Linked DNA regions of Homo sapiens: region 2 is linked to region 1. Evidence: promoter capture Hi-C in human tissues and cell types (Jung and others, 2019). All regions are on one chromosome and are shown on one strand. The core of a region is centred on a gene start or on the middle of the fragment in contact, and the rest is flanking DNA. Distances in the headings are between cores, read along the strand shown.

The links. The method cuts DNA at HindIII sites, captures the fragments that hold promoters and counts their contacts. A contact is called where the count stands out against the background at its distance.
Region 2: a fragment that was not itself captured here is called in contact with the fragment with the promoter of UFSP1 in region 1 in 1 of the 25 tissues and cell types used here (pancreas).

Annotation. Positions count from the first base shown.
Region 1 is chr7:100,887,116-100,891,419 of GRCh38, reverse strand. It overlaps UFSP1 (UFM1 specific peptidase 1), which reads left to right and starts at 1,705. Exons shown (of 1, transcript NM_001430944.2): 1 at 1,705-2,699. The coding sequence starts at 1,921. The coding sequence ends at 2,577. SRRT (serrate, RNA effector molecule) reads right to left here. Exons shown (of 20, transcript NM_015908.6): 15 at 4,220-4,304; 16 at 3,907-4,100; 17 at 3,561-3,717; 18 at 3,277-3,378; 19 at 3,037-3,163; 20 at 2,756-2,946. The coding sequence ends at 2,871. ACHE (acetylcholinesterase (Yt blood group)) reads left to right here. Exons shown (of 5, transcript NM_000665.5): 4 at 82-251; 5 at 1,085-1,426. The coding sequence ends at 1,206. RefSeq lists silencers at 262-311, 383-540, 1,632-1,681 and enhancers at 1-478, 702-761, 479-1,212. The HindIII fragment of the contact is 19,297 bases long and covers 1-4,304 here.
Region 2 is chr7:100,830,268-100,834,571 of GRCh38, reverse strand. It overlaps a transcript of SLC12A9 not described here. Among named protein-coding and RNA genes, the nearest start is that of EPHB4, 4.9 kb to the right of the region's middle. The HindIII fragment of the contact is 4,124 bases long and covers 500-4,304 here.

The DNA.
Region 1 (4,304 bases), core at 456-2,955:
TGAAGAGTCCGGGATCCCGTGGAGTTGGGGGCCACCTCCTCCCACTGCCCGTCTGGACTGAGCCTTCCCTTCCTTCCGCAGGGATCCCAATGAGCCCCGAGACCCCAAGGCCCCACAATGGCCCCCGTACACGGCGGGGGCTCAGCAGTACGTTAGTCTGGACCTGCGGCCGCTGGAGGTGCGGCGGGGGCTGCGCGCCCAGGCCTGCGCCTTCTGGAACCGCTTCCTCCCCAAATTGCTCAGCGCCACCGGTATGCAGGGGCCAGCGGGCAGCGGCTGGGAGGAGGGGAGTGGGAGCCCGCCAGGTGTAACCCCTCTCTTCTCCCCCTAGCCTCGGAGGCTCCCAGCACCTGCCCAGGCTTCACCCATGGGGAGGCTGCTCCGAGGCCCGGCCTCCCCCTGCCCCTCCTCCTCCTCCACCAGCTTCTCCTCCTCTTCCTCTCCCACCTCCGGCGGCTGTGAACACGGCCTCTTCCCCTACGGCCACAGGGGCCCCTCCTCTAATGAGTGGTCGGACCGTGGGGAAGGGCCCCACTCAGGGATCTCAGACCTAGTGCTCCCTTCCTCCTCAAACCGAGAGACTCACACTGGACAGGGCAGGAGGAGGGGGCCGTGCCTCCCACCCTTCTCAGGGACCCCCACGCCTTTGTTGTTTGAATGGAAATGGAAAAGCCAGTATTCTTTTATAAAATTATCTTTTGGAACCTGAGCCTGACATTGGGGGGAAGTGGGAGGCCCCGGACGGGGTAGCACCCCCCATTGGGGCTATAACGGTCAACCATTTCTGTCTCTTCTTTTTCCCCCAACCTCCCCCTCCTGTCCCCTCTGTTCCCGTCTTCCGGTCATTCTTTTCTCCTCCTCTCTCCTTCCTGCTGTCCTTCTCCGGCCCCGCCTCTGCCCTCATCCTCCCTCTCGTCTTTCGCACATTCTCCTGATCCTCTTGCCACCGTCCCACGTGGTCGCCTGCATTTCTCCGTGCGTCCTCCCTGCACTCATACCCCCCCTTCAACCCGCCCAAATGTCCGATCCCCGACCTTCCTCGTGCCGTCCTCCCCTCCCGCCTCGCTGGGCGCCCTGGCCGCAGACACGCTCGACGAGGCGGAGCGCCAGTGGAAGGCCGAGTTCCACCGCTGGAGCTCCTACATGGTGCACTGGAAGAACCAGTTCGACCACTACAGCAAGCAGGATCGCTGCTCAGACCTGTGACCCCGGCGGGACCCCCATGTCCTCCGCTCCGCCCGGCCCCCTAGCTGTATATACTATTTATTTCAGGGCTGGGCTATAACACAGACGAGCCCCAGACTCTGCCCATCCCCACCCCACCCCGACGTCCCCCGGGGCTCCCGGTCCTCTGCATGTCTCAGGCTGAGCTCCCTCCCCCGCGGTGCCTTCGCCCCTCTGGGCTGCCAATAAACTGTTACAGCCACGGGAGTGTGCGCGACTAGGGAGCCAGGGGTAGAGGCAGAACGCCGGAATCACGGGGGCCGAGTCTATGCAGGAGCGGGGCTGGAGGGCAAGAAACAGGCGAGCTCCGAGGCGGGCGCAAGGCAAAGGCCAACCCCTAGCCCTGCCCTGCCGGGCGGAGCTCGCGCCTGCGTAATGAGGCCCGCAGGCAGGCTAGCTGGCACGGCGGAGGGGAGGAGAGGGGAGGGGAGGGGAGGGGAGGGGAGGGGAGGGGCGGGGCGGGGCGGGGCGCGGCGGAGCATTGTGGGAGCTCCTCGGTCGGTGCCGGTCGGTGGCTGCCTATTGCGGCCTGCGGTGATCAACGAGGCCCGGGGAGCGCGTCCCCAGTCTGCGCGCCGGTCCTGCGGCAGCTGGCCCAAGACCCGGAGCCGAAAGGAAGTGTTGGAGCCTGAGGTCGCTCCGCGCCGCTAGGAGGACGCTGTGCCTGGCCTGGGACCTCCGCTCCCGCCCACCGCCCTGGAGCCGCTGAGGGACGTCCACGTGGGCCTGTCCCCGCCGAGCCGCGGCCCTGTCCGCCTGGCGCTGCTCTCGGGCCACTACCTCTACTACCACTACGGCTGCGACGGCCTGGACGACCGCGGCTGGGGCTGCGGCTACCGCACTCTGCAGACGCTGTGCTCGTGGCCAGAGGGCCAGCCCGCGGGCGTACCTGGACTGGCCGCCGTACAGGCGGCCCTGGAGGACATGGGCGACAAGCCCCCCGGCTTCCGGGGCTCCCGGGACTGGATCGGCTGCGTGGAGGCCAGCCTCTGCCTCGCTCACTTCGGAGGGCCCCAGGGACGCCTCTGCCACGTACCCCGGGGAGTGGGGCTGCACGGGGAGCTGGAGAGGCTTTACTCGCACTTCGCAGGGGGTGGGGGCCCAGTCATGGTTGGGGGGGACGCAGATGCCAGGTCCAAGGCCTTGCTGGGAGTCTGCGTAGGGTCAGGCACGGAAGCCTATGTCCTGGTATTGGACCCTCACTACTGGGGCACTCCAAAAAGCCCCAGTGAACTACAGGCTGCTGGGTGGGTGGGCTGGCAAGAGGTGAGTGCAGCCTTTGACCCCAACTCCTTCTACAACCTGTGCTTGACCAGCCTTAGCTCCCAACAGCAGCAGCGCACCTTGGACTGAGGACGAAGTTACAGAACTGAGATTCTCGGGTCCCAGACACGCACCTATGTACCTCCCACTGGTGTCCCTGCAAAGCCTGGCGCTTTTGACATCAATAATAAAAGTGGCAGGGCTGAGCAACACCTCAGGAGTTACTCTGGAAGGATGGAGGAGTTATGTAACACACGAGAGTCAGGAGCCCTGTGGAAGTGCTTTTATTAGCAGTAAGGCTGATCGTACAAAAAATTCTCAGAGCTTCATAGGACAAGGTAGTACAAGTATGGATGATACAGGACTGAGGAACGGGGGACGGCTCAAAAGAAATCAACATCGTCTGGGGCATCCAGGTCCCGATATTCCACAATGGCCCTTGGGTCTCCACGAACCATCCTGTGAGGTGAGAGGTACAGGATGAGAGCTGAGGGCTCCCAAAAGGGAGTCTGCAGGCGGCAACAAAGCTTGGGCGTCTGCCCTCCTCACCTGTTGCGAGGTTTCCCAGGATAACCTCCCTGGCCTCGGAAGGCATCATAGTTCCCTCGACCAGCACCATACGGGGCATGGGGGTATGGAGGGCCTCCTGTGGGGACTGCAGGGCGGACAGCACCAGCTATGACAGAGATCAGTGTTGAGTTGCAAAACTATGTCCTCAATTCCATCCTCTGTTTTCTTCTCCCAAAGCCACACACTCACCAAGCCCCTTCATCTCCCTCCTGTACTTACCTCCATAGCCCAAGATCGGGGGCCGGGGCTGACCATAGGGCATCAGGCCCTGGGGAGTCTGGTGTGGGTAGGGGAGTCCTGGGGTCAAACCTGGGGGGAGTACAACACGGACAGGGACATGAATTACTGCGGGGGCGGGGAGGGGGATACGGGTACAATTGACTTCTAGGGCTATGGCCTGAGGATGGGGCAGAAACTTCTCGGGGTGACACGTTAAAGAGAAACAGGAGTCCCTGGGTAGTCAAGGAAGAGGGCACATGCGACCTTCATGGATCGTATCTTACTCTGGGCGGGGCCAGGTGGCTGGGCTGGCTTGATCTCAGGCAGAGCTGGGCGCTTAGCATCAGTGAGGAAGTTGTTAAAAAACGCGACTTCCTTTTTCACTTCCTCAATTTTCTCTGCATGCTTGTTGAAGATATGTTTGCGCACAAACTCAGGACCCTGGGTGGAGAGAGGAGAGGGGTCAGGACAGCCACATAAGGGTTGCCTCGCTCCCAGGCCCGAGCTGGAAGGATTCCCAGCTCCCGCCTGCCAGTGCAGTAAGCAGTTCCCCCACCCCTGCCCAGGGGGCTTCCTGTCTCAACCCCACCTCCCACCACCGTAGCACGGCCATTCTCCAACATCCCACACCTTGAATTTCTTGCCACTGAGAGGACACAGCCACTTATCCTTGCCCAGTTCCTGCGTGTTGGAGGTGACGAACTTCTCCACTTCCTGCTCTGGGTCTTTGCGCCCCATCTTCTGGGCCTCTTCCTCTGAGAGTGACTCCCGCACACTCAGCAACGGCGTGAGCTTCTCCTCAAAAGTCTTCTGCCACTCCAGCACTGTGGTTTGGGAACAGAGGAAGGAAGGTTGGCAAGGGAGCCAGAAGGAAGGATGGTGGCAAGGGGCTGGAGGACCAAGGCCAGGGGCAGCCGGGAACAAAGGGGAACCTGGAGCTCACCTTCCCCGTGACTGATGCGGTTGGGTGGCATGGGCCCCCGAACGTGGATGATCCCACAGCGATTGGGCATCTCGTCCTCGTTGGG
Region 2 (4,304 bases), core at 1,312-3,811, 58 kb after region 1:
ACATGCGTGCACCATCCCCCCCAACACACACACACTCACACATACACGCCTATCTGGGTTCAAACCCACATAGTCACTTGGATGCTGCACTGGTTTCCCCGCCTTCAGTCTTCATTCCTTTCAGTCTATTCTCCAAAATTGTATAAGTGGGATCTTTCTCTACAAACCATGCAATGTTGCTTCTTGGCCTAAAACCCTTCACTAGCTCCCCAGAGCAGTCCTGCAAAAACCCGTAATGACCTGAGGCTGGCCCTCACTCACCTCTCCAGTTCACCCATGGTCACTGTCCTTGCCCTCTCTGACCTGGCGTTGTGAACTCTGGCAGCTCTCTGAATGGGGCGACCTCACAACTCTGCCTTTAAACTCCTTTCCTGCCAATCTCTAGGACTCATTCAGACATCATCACCTTCTGCAGAAAGCTCACCTGAAACCTGCATCGGCTGTGCTTCCTGCGTGATCCTGTAGGGTCCTCTGTGCACCACAAGTTAGGCTGTGCGCTTAGCCACCTGGATGCTGGTGAGGCCCCGTGGCTGTTTCTACCCCTGACTTGTCTAATCCTGGAAGGTAGAAAATGACTTGGTGTCCTCCATTTTCAATTTTTCCTTCTTTCTTTTTTTTTTTTTTTTTTTTTTTTTTTTTGAGACAGAGTCTCGCTCTGTACCTGAGGCTGGAGTGCAGTGGCGTGATCTGGGTTCACTGCAAGCTCCGCCTCCCGGGTTCCCGCCATTCTCCTGCCTCAGCCTCCCAAGTAGCTGGGACTACAGGTGCCCACCACCACACCCGGCTAATTTTTGTATTTTTAGTAGAGATGGGGTTTCACCATGTTAGCCAGGATTGTCTCGATCTCCTGACTTCGTGATCCGCCCACCTCAGCCTCCCAAAGTGCTGGGATTATAGGTGTGAGCCACCACACCCAGCTATTTTTTCTTTAGAGCTGGGGTCTCACTATGTTGCCCAGGCTGGCCTGGAACTCCTGGGCTCAAGTGATCCTCCCACCTCGGCCTCCCAAAGTGCTGGGATTACAGGCATGAGCCACCATACCTTGTCTGTTTTTTTTTGTTTTGTTTTGTTTTTTTGCTTTTTGTTTTGTTTTGCTTTGCTTTGAGACAGAGTCTCGCTCTGTCACCCAGCCTGGAGTGCAGTGGTACAATCTTGGCTCACTGCAACCTCTGCCTCCTGGATTCAAGCAATTCTCGTGCCTCAGCCTCCTGAGTAGCTGGGATTACAGGCGTGTGCCACTGTAACTGGCTAATTTTTCTATTTTTAGTAGAGACGGGCCAGGCAGGTCTTGAACTCCCAACCTCAGGTGATCCACCCGCCTCGGCCTCCCAAAGTGCTAAGATTACAGGTGTGAGCCACTGCGCCCAGCCTTTTTTTCAACTTTTTTTTTGGCCTCACACAGTGCTAGAATTAGGTAGGAGTTTGAGACCAGCCTGGACAACATAGCAAGACCTCATGTCTACAAAAAATAAAAATAAAATAAAATAAATTAGCCAGGCCAGGTGCAGTGGATCACACCTGTAATCATAGGACTTTGGGAGGCTGAGGCTAGACAATCACTTGAGCTCAAGAGTTCAAGACCAGCCTGCGCAACATAGTGAGACCCTGTCTGTACAAACACTAAAAATATTAGCTAGGCATGGTGGCACACGCCTGTAGTCTCAGCTACTTGGGAGGCTGAGGCAGGAGGATCGCTTGAGCCTGGGAGTTCGAGGCTGCAGTGAGCCTCGATCGTGCCACTGCACTCCAGCATGGGTGACAAAGGGAGACCCTGTCTCTTAAAAAAAGAAAAAAAAAGGTATAAAATCTTTGGATTGAGAGAAGAAATCACAGCTGACCTCAAATGTTTAAAATATGACAAATATCATAAATATTATACAAGCTAGAAAAATAACAACATTTATAGTAAAGAAGACTGATATAGCCCTGGAATACTTGCATTTACTACCTTTTTCTTAGATGTGTACTCTTTGACCATCTCTTCATATGATGATTTTGTAATATTATTTTCTATTCTTTCTCTGTCTTTCCTCTAGGATGGCTGATTAATTTTTGCTTAGAGATGGGGTCTCGCTCTGTTGCCCAGGTTGGAGTGCAGTGGTGCCATCACGGCTCCCTGCAGCCTAGACCTCTCAGGCTCAGTGATCCTCCCACCTCGGCCTCCCCAGTGTCTGAGAGACCATAGCCACATGCCACCACGCCCAGCTATTTTTTATTTTTTATTTTCTGGTAGAGACAGGGGTCTCACTTTGTTGCCCAGGCCGGTCTCAAACTCCAGGACTCAAGCAATCCTCCTGCCTTGGCTTCCCAAAGTGCTGGAATTACAGGTGTGAGCCACAGTGCCTGGCTAAGTTATTTTTTTTTGGTGGGAGTGGGACGGAGTCTCGCTCTGTTGCCAGGCTGGAGTGCAGTGGCGCGATCTCGGCTCACTGCAACCTCCGCCTCCCAAGTTCAAGTGATTCTCCTGCCTCAGCCTCCCGAGTAGCCTGGCTAAGTTTTTAAGGTTTCATCATTGTTTATAAAAATTTATTTGAGCTTTACAACTCTATTGGTAATGTTGAAAACTCTATCAAATTCCTTTTGTAACAGAGCTGTAAGATTTCAGGTCATTTCAAGTGTTGTCCTGCTGAAACTCACCTTCAAAACTGTTTAAATTATGGCACTTATTAACCAGGGCCGTGGAAGAAGCCAGGCAGGTGAGAGGTGCTGAAGCTTAAACTTCATGAACTTTGGGGTAAACCTGAACTTTGGACCCGACACAGTTAGGTGGCCCAGAAGAGGGGAGACTGAGATGTGGAAAGAGTAATGAGAAGTTCAACAATTTACGGAGAAAGGGGTGATTTGCTGCTTGTTATTTCTTACAATAGGAAAAGCTGTAACTCCAGGATTACTCAAAACAACTGTCACAATCTGTACAAGAAAAAGTAAACTTATTAGCCGGGCATGGTCCCCGCGCGGGGTCCCAGCTCCTCAGGAGGCTGAGGAAAGATTGCTCGAGCCCAGGAGGTCAAGGCTGCAGTGAGCCATGACCGTGCCACTGCACTCCAGCCTGGGCAATACAGTAAGACCCTATCTCTAAAAAAAAGAGCCACGTGCAGTGGCTCACGCCTGTAATCCCAGCACTTTGGGAGGCCAAGGCAGGTGGATCACCTTAGGTCAGGAGTTCCAGACCAGCCTGACCAACATGGAGAAACCCCGCGTCTACTAAAAATACAAAATTAGCCCGGTGTGGTGGCATATGCCTGTAATCCCAGCTACCTGGGAGGCTGAGGCGGGAGAATCACTTGAACCCAGGAGGCAGAGGTTGTGGTGAGCCGAGATCGCACCTTTGCACTCCAGCCTGGGCAACAAGAGTGAAACGCCGTCTCCAAAAATAAAATAAAATAAAATACAAAAGAAAAGAAAAAGAAAACTCCAGTAGCTGTTGGTGGATGCTATGCGCAAGTACCGACAATGCACCGTGTGATAGCAGTATATTGCTCTGGGCTGGGAACAAAGGTGACAGCCTAATATTTTGGGTAGGGAACAGCAAAGTGCTCTAATAATGAGGAAGGGAGGGCTGAGTTTGGTTTGGTCTGCAGAACAGGCATGGATTCAGGTAGTAACGTGAATGTTCACCCACGTTCTGTAATTTAGTGGCTACTGAATTTGCTTGCCTGGGAAGTGGTTCTGGGTGGTCTAAGGGTGGAGGACATGACTTCACACACACAGGATAGACCAAGGGTGGTTCCTGAGAATTGAAGTGAAAATCTCAGATGCCATCTCCACGTAAAGGGGAAATCATGGGATTTTTTTTCTACCAGGTTGTAATTCACCAGATGACATAAAACTATATTAATTTTTACCAGATTCTCTTTGAGGCCAGGAACCATGTTTTACAAATCTTGAAAACTAGCAATGTGATCACTCGGCACGTAGTAGATGCTCAGTAAAGATTTCATTTTTTCATTCTTTGACTGGCATACACTAGATGGTAGAAAATAGATTACTGCCTGGTGTGGGGTGTGGGCTGATGACCTGACATGGAATAGAATGTTTTCTCTCTTTCTTTCTTTCTTTTTTTGTAGACAGGGTCTCGCTATGTTGTTCAGGCTGCCCTCAAACTCCTGGACTGAAACGATCCTCTCATCTCAGCCTCCAAAAGTGCTGGCATTACAGGTATGAGTCACTGTGCCCCACTAAGATGAGTGTTTTCTATTGTTTAATTAATTTATGTTTTGAGACAGAGTTTCACTCTGTTGCCCAGGCTGGAGTGCAGTGGCACGATTTCAGCTCACTGCAACCTCTGCCTCCCAGGGTTCAAG